2 separate regions of the Homo sapiens genome follow, and region 2 is linked to region 1. The links are contacts of gene promoters, found by promoter capture Hi-C in blood cells and fetal thymus (Javierre and others, 2016). All regions are on one chromosome and are shown on one strand. The core of a region is centred on a gene start or on the middle of the fragment in contact, and the rest is flanking DNA. Distances in the headings are between cores, read along the strand shown. Region 1 holds the start of CD1B (CD1b molecule). Region 2 has its middle 13 kb from the start of CD1D.

Region 1 (3,379 bases), core at 616-3,115:
AAAAAAAGTGTCATGTTATAACTCGAGTTCAGAGGTTATGAACTCAGAAACCTACAAGCTTGGACAGCGACCCCATTCACTCCTTTGGGAACCAAATAACTTGTTATTTAAGCTCCTATCCTTTGATATCTTCCTACTCTTGATCTTAGAGGAGGTGGTGGGAAGTGAAATAACAGCAGGACTAACCTTGTCTTTGCAGATCTGCTTTTCCTGCATTGAGGACGCCCAAGAGATATCGGGGGCAGGTTTCATAGAGGAGAATTCTCACAGTTTCCATGATACCTTGATATTGTATGATTAGTGCACAGAATTTCTGTGCCCTGCTGCCACCTTCTGGGGAAGGCACACATGAAGCATTCTTGACACTCAGGAAATCCAATCCTCCTAGAGCTCCCCTCAGGAAGCTTACTATGGCACCTCCAGAATGTAGCTCACAGCCTGCTATGCCCTGGATCTCAAAGGGGTCTATGTAGAGGGAAAAGAGAGCAAGTTATTAAACACAAATAAGAAAAAAAGGCATGAGAAAAGAACCTAGGATTTTAGATTTTGGTGGGGATAAAGTTATTTGGTGTAAAATGATGATGAGCTAAAAACTAATGATAACATTTAGACATTTTCAGAAACAAGAGCATTGAGAAAAATGTGCATGCCATGAAGACAAAGGTATGTGATAAAGGAGTACAGTGAGTATGAAAGGAGAGGTGAGGCAGAGCGTGGTGCAGTCAGGAGTGCAGCATTCCAGAGTGAGTGGAGGTTCCCAGCAAGAGGAGGGTGCGGGGAGGAGATGATTGAAAAGATGGATTAGGGGAGAAAGCCACACGTTAGATCACTCAGGCACAGGGTAGGAGAAGTAAGGGCCCTTGAGGAGAAGTTTCACATAAGACAAACCAGCAGCTGGTTACAAAGTGGAAGACAGTCTGAGAGTAAGAGAAGAGTGCAGAGGCAGCAAGAATCTGAAATATGAGGTGTGATGGTGTGAAGCTGGAGTGAGAGACTACTCAAGAAAAGCATGTGCGTGCATTTGGGTAAAATAGAAAGGAAGGGAGAAGCATCAGAGAGAGCAACACTTTGCAAAAAAGAGAGAAAAGAGAGTCCTTGAGACTCTTCCCAGTTCGGTGGACTAGACTCACATTTCATCTGGAAATCACCGGCAAAGTCTTGTACTTCTCGAGCGAATCCAAAGATGTAGACTCGGAATATCTCCTCTAACTCAGCAACCTCCTTATCACTAAAGTTACCTTTAGACCAAGGCTTCAGGAATATGGCAGTGCCTGAGTCGCTATCCCAGCCATGAATCTGCAAATCATCCAACCAGCCTGAGCCTTGAGTTTGTGCCCAGGTACTATTGGTAAAGGACGAGGTCTGGATAACATGAAAGGAGGTCGGCCCCTGGAAGGCTGTGAAGAGTGGAAAAGCAAGATGGTGAAGATAAAGAGAGAAGCAGGAGACAATTAGGAAGAATGGGAATGAAAATGATTTAGAAAACAAGAACCTAGAGTCTAAAGAACACAGGAAGTCTGACACATTTGACTGCCTTAAGGCTTCAGGTTCTAGTCCCAACCACCAGAATGGTTGAAGAGGGCGGGAGACAGAAAGACCCAGACCCTTAGTGTCCAATTGCACCTAGGAAAGCCCTGCTTGCTTTTTAAAATCCAAACCCCTGCACCAGTGCTGGGAGCTGCCAGAGTGACTCTTACCATGTTCACTGTTACCACCAGGAAAGAGAACAGCTAACAGTTGAAATGGCAGCAGCAGCATTTCACTGGGAGATGCAACTTCTTACTGGCAGAGCTGGTATTTGATCTCCAATTTCAGCAAAGCTTTTCCTCAGTACCCTGTAGTGACTTCTTCTCTCTTCCAACTGCCAAATCTCTTCCTCATCCAAACTGCTTTTCAGAGAAAAATGTGCCTCCCACAGCCCTGAGCCTCTTACCTCACCTTTTATTTCCCTCAAGCCCTGATTTTTAGAGTTTCTCTTACCCCCTGACTTCCAGCCGCTCTCCCTGTCCTCACCTTCCTTCATACCTCCTTGGAAAAGCCCCCATATGATTCTGCATTTTCATTTCTCCTTCCTTAGCCTTTATTCCCACATCTATAGGATAAGATGGTGATATTAAGCAATTGCTAAGCTTTTAGTCTGCTTTAACCCAGAAGGATGCTTTTAGTTTATCCACCTCACTTAGTTTCTCCCCCTCCCAGCTGCCTTATCTTCTCTGGCACTCTGTTACTGCCTCTTCCCAATGTTTTCAATGTCTTCTCTTTCTTATATTGCCCTCTTTGTCTGGTGTTCCTTACCCCACATTCTAAACTGGCTGTGAGTGTGTGTGTGTGTGTGTCTGTGTCTGTGTGTGTATGTGTATGTGTGTGTACCGATATTCACTTACATAAAGGCAAAGCATTTAAAACATTTCCTGTACTATAGCACTACAAACCAAAATGCCAGAATCAAATATAATAAAGACTGAAGTTTATAATTCAAACAAAATTATACTATAGCAATATTTGAGGGAAAAAATGACAATTGCTGCTAGCATGTGACCTTCTCTTCAGGAGCTCTTGGCCTATGGAGTTTTGAGTAACAAATATTCATGACATAAACAGAACTCTAGGAGCTATGCTATGTGCACCTCCAGCCTAAGTCAAAGATAACTTTTTGGGTAAGTTGCCATAAGCGGCAGAGCTTTTTTCTTCTCTTGTAATATCTCATAACTGCTGTCTACATTTGGGCATTCATATCACCACATGTGGTATTAATAATAGAGCAAAGAGGTTGCTTTTTTTTATACAAAAAGTTCAGAGATACTTGTTTTAAGATGTCACCTCCTATCTTCTTGTATGCCCATGAAAAATTTTAAGAAGAATTTTTGGATTTTCTCCATTTAGGAAAAAAATCACATATTTGCAGAGATCTATGTATCATGCAGAAATGTGGCAGCAATCGATTCCGAGTAAAGAGGGTTATCACTAACTAATTCTATTATGTGGATAAGAAAATGCAAAGTGAGTAGTGTAGTGTTCTCTATTCCTGGGGACACTACTGGTTCACAACATTAATAAGACTGGTTCACAACATTAATAAGACTAGCCTTCATCCAAGATTATTACTGCCTAATTGATAAATACAGAGCAGCTCTCCAAATTTCAATGTATGTATCTCTTAACAACATTCCCAGACTCCAATACATGACAGAATTGAATCTACTTTTTGGATAACAGCCATAGACAACAGCAGAGACTTAACATTGGCTGTCACAGACATGAACATTACTATTTTTGTGTTTATACGTTTTTTATTTTGGGTAGAACACCCAAAACAGAGCTCAGGAAAAGCTGGTAGACAACCTGGGCTATTTTCCATTAAAATAAGTGAGTTCTTGCA
Region 2 (3,379 bases), core at 618-3,117, 140 kb before region 1:
GACTTGAAAGAACTAGAACAACTTTACTAAGTTTTGAGAATCTGTAAACCAATTTATTTCTCTTACATTTTCTTTTGTTTATTCACAAAAATTATATATAATTAATATGCTTGTCTAAAAAAGTTCAAAAGACCACTTGAAAAGTTAAAACACAAAGAGATAAAAATATTGTGTTGGTTTATTTGACAGTTTTTTTCTTTTCTTAGTGGTACATAAAATATTTGCATAATTACAATTGGTTACATCTTAGCATGATGAAATATGATACCATAATTTAAATTAATATGAAAGTATGATAAAACATTAAGACAATAGATACCATATGACTCTGATAATACCTCCGTTTACTTTCCTAAAATTTTACAAAATTTTTACTCTTGGTTATCTGTTGCGGGAAGTCAGGGACCCCAAACGGAGGGACCGGCTGAAGCCATGACAGAAGAATGTGGATTGTGAAGATTTTATGGACATTTATTAGTTCCCCAAATTAATACTTTTGTAATTTCTTATGCCTGTCTTTACTGCAATCTCTAAACATAAATTGTAAAGATTTCATGGACACTTATCACTTCCCCAATCAATATCCTTGTGATTTCCTATGCCTGTCTTTGCTTTAATCTCTTAATCCTGTCAGCCGAGAAGGATGTATATCGTCTCAGGACCCTGTAATAATTGCGTTAACTACACAAATTGTACAGCATGTGTGTTTGAGCAATATGAAATGTGGGCACCCTGAAAAAAGAATAGGATAACAGCAATTGTTCAGAGAATAAGAGAGATAACCTTAAACTCTGACTGCCGGTGAGCCGGGCAGAACAGAGCCATATTTCTCTTCTTTCAAAAGCAAATGGGAGAAATATCGCTGAATTCTTTTTCTCAGCATGGAACGTCCCTGAGAAAGAGAATGCGCACCTAGGGGTAGGTCTCTGAACTGGCCCCCCCGGGGCGTATCTGTCTCTTTTGGTCGAGATTGCAGAGGTGAAATAAACTCCAGTCTCCCACAGCACTCCCAGGCTTATTAGGAAGAGGAAATTCCCGCCTAATAAATTTTGGTCAGACCGGTTGATCTCAAAACGCTGTCTCCTGATAAGATGTTATCAATGACAATGGTGCCTGAAACTTCATTAGCAATTTTAATTTTGCCTCCATCCTGTGGTCCTGTGATCTCGCCCTGCCTCCACTTGCCTTGTGATATTCTATTACCCTGTTAAGTACTTGATGTCTGTCACCCACACCTATTCGTATACTCCCTCCCCTTTTGAAACTCCCTGATAAAAACTTGCTGGTTTTTGTGGCTTGTGGGGCATCACGGATCCTACCAACGTGTGATGTCTCCCCCGGATGCCCAGCTTTAAAATTTCTCTCTTTTGTACTCTGTCCCTTTATTTCTCAAGCCAGCCGACGCTTAGGAAAATAGAAATGAACCTACGTGATTATTGGGGCAGGTCCCCCGATAGTTATCACCTCAAAAGAATAGGTAAAATATATATTTTTTTCCTTTGGAGACAGAGTCTCACTCTGTCCTCCAGGCTGGAGTACAGTGGTGCAGTCTCGGCTCACTGCAACTTCTGTCTCCTAGGTTCAAGGTTCAAGCGATTCTCCTGTCTCAGCCCCCCAAGTAGCTGGGATTACAGGCGCCCGCCACCACGCCTGGCTAATTTTTGTATTTTTTTTCATAAAGATGGGGTTTGGCTATGTTGACCAGGCTGGTCTTGAACTCCTGACCTCAGGTGATCTGCCCACCTTGGCCTCCCAAAGTGCTGAGATTACAGGCGTGAGTCGCTGTGCCTGGCCGATAAGTAAAATCTTAACGCATGGCTTTGTGCTACCACAGCACATCTTCCTGACTTCTGGTATCTAACTCCCTGGAGACCATTTTTTGGGCTCTACTCCTCACCCTCCTGGAATCTATTAATTCTTTGTTAGCTCCCCTGATCAGTGTGCTGGCTCTCTTGCTCCAAAATCTATTAATGAATTGCAGGTCATTCAAGGGCTTTTCAAAATGGAGGAAAAATAGTTTATTTTGTAGAGATACCATTTTCTCTTTTCTTTTCCAAATTATTGGAATCTAGGTGAAGAAATGCTTCATCTAAAATGCAGGGTCGTGGATGCTATGAATTGGTTTGCTGAAACTGGAAAGGTAAAAGTACATTTCTCAGACTACTTTTCATTTTCAGTTTTGGATGTATATTTGGTTTTAACATTTAGATGCAGTCTTGGGACATTTTTAGGCAGGCTTTTAACTACAAATGCACTTTTCTTTAGCAGATATAGAGTTATTCAACAGCTCTGATTAAATGAATAAACACCTTGAAAAACACAGACTACCAAAGTTCACTCAAAAAGAAACAGATGGCCAGGCGCGGTGGCTCACGCCTGTAATCACAACACTTTGGGAGGCCGAGGCGGGTGGATCACAAGGTCAGGAGTTCAAGACCAGCCTGGCCAAGATGGTGAAACCCTGTCTCTACTAAAAATATAAAAATTAGCCAGGCACAGTGGCTGGCGTCTGTAGTCCCAGCTACTCGGGAGGCTGAGGCAGGAGAATCGCTTGGACCTGGGGGGTGGAGGTTGCAATGAGCCAAGATTGTACCACTGCATTCCAGCCTGAGTGACAAAGTGGGACTCTGTCTCAAAAAAAAAAAAAAAAAAAAAAAAAAGAAATAGATAATCTGAATAACTTTTTCTGATATTGATAATTTGTATTGTTCCTCTTTCTCCACAGATTAATCAGGCTAGAGGTTTGTTGGTTTTATTAATCTTTTCATTGATTTCTTTCTTCTGTTTAATTTGGGTTTAGTTTGTTCTTTCCCCCCTAGCTTTTAAAGATAAAAGCTGAAGCTGTTGATTTGACATCTTTATCCATTTCTTTAAAAAATAATTAATAGCTAGTTTAATTAGTGACACAAAGAAAATAAATTGTGCCTCTTCAGCAGATAAGTCCTGATGACAAAAATCATGTAACATACATATGATTAAAAATTCAAACAAATGCTGACAGAAAAGAAAATTAGTATCCCTTCCTCTCCGCTTCCCATTGTCCCTCTCATAAAGAATAACCTCTCCTATTTACTTTTTAAAAAATTCTTAAGTTGATACATAATAATTGTATGTATTTATGGGGTGCATGGGATATTTTGATACATGTATACATGTGTAATGATCAAATCAGAGTGTTTAACATACCCATCATCTCAAACATTTACCATTTCTTTGCGCTTGGTAACATTTCAAATCTTTTCTTCCAGCTATTTTGAAATATACAATATGTTAACTATAGTTACCCTGCTATAGTATTGAACACCAAACTTATTCCTTCTATCTAACTGTATGTTTTTATGCATTAATATGGCCACACCACATTTTCTTTATTCATTTA

What was found. Contacts are between HindIII fragments. The CHiCAGO score rates a contact against its expected background, and 5 or more counts as called.
Region 2: a fragment that was not itself captured here is called in contact with the fragment with the promoter of CD1B in region 1 in 3 of 17 cell types (fetal thymus, M2 macrophages and M0 macrophages); the score reaches 15.1 in fetal thymus.

Annotation. Positions count from the first base shown.
Region 1 is chr1:158,329,666-158,333,044 of GRCh38, forward strand. It overlaps CD1B (CD1b molecule), which reads right to left and starts at 1,866. Exons shown (of 6, transcript NM_001764.3): 1 at 1,698-1,866; 2 at 1,131-1,397; 3 at 187-465. The coding sequence starts at 1,758. The HindIII fragment of the contact is 309 bases long and covers 1,819-2,127 here.
Region 2 is chr1:158,191,866-158,195,244 of GRCh38, forward strand. No RefSeq gene overlaps it. Among named protein-coding and RNA genes, the nearest start is that of CD1D, 13 kb to the left of the region's middle. RefSeq lists enhancers at 723-1,429, 1,430-2,135. The HindIII fragment of the contact is 5,198 bases long and covers 1-3,379 here.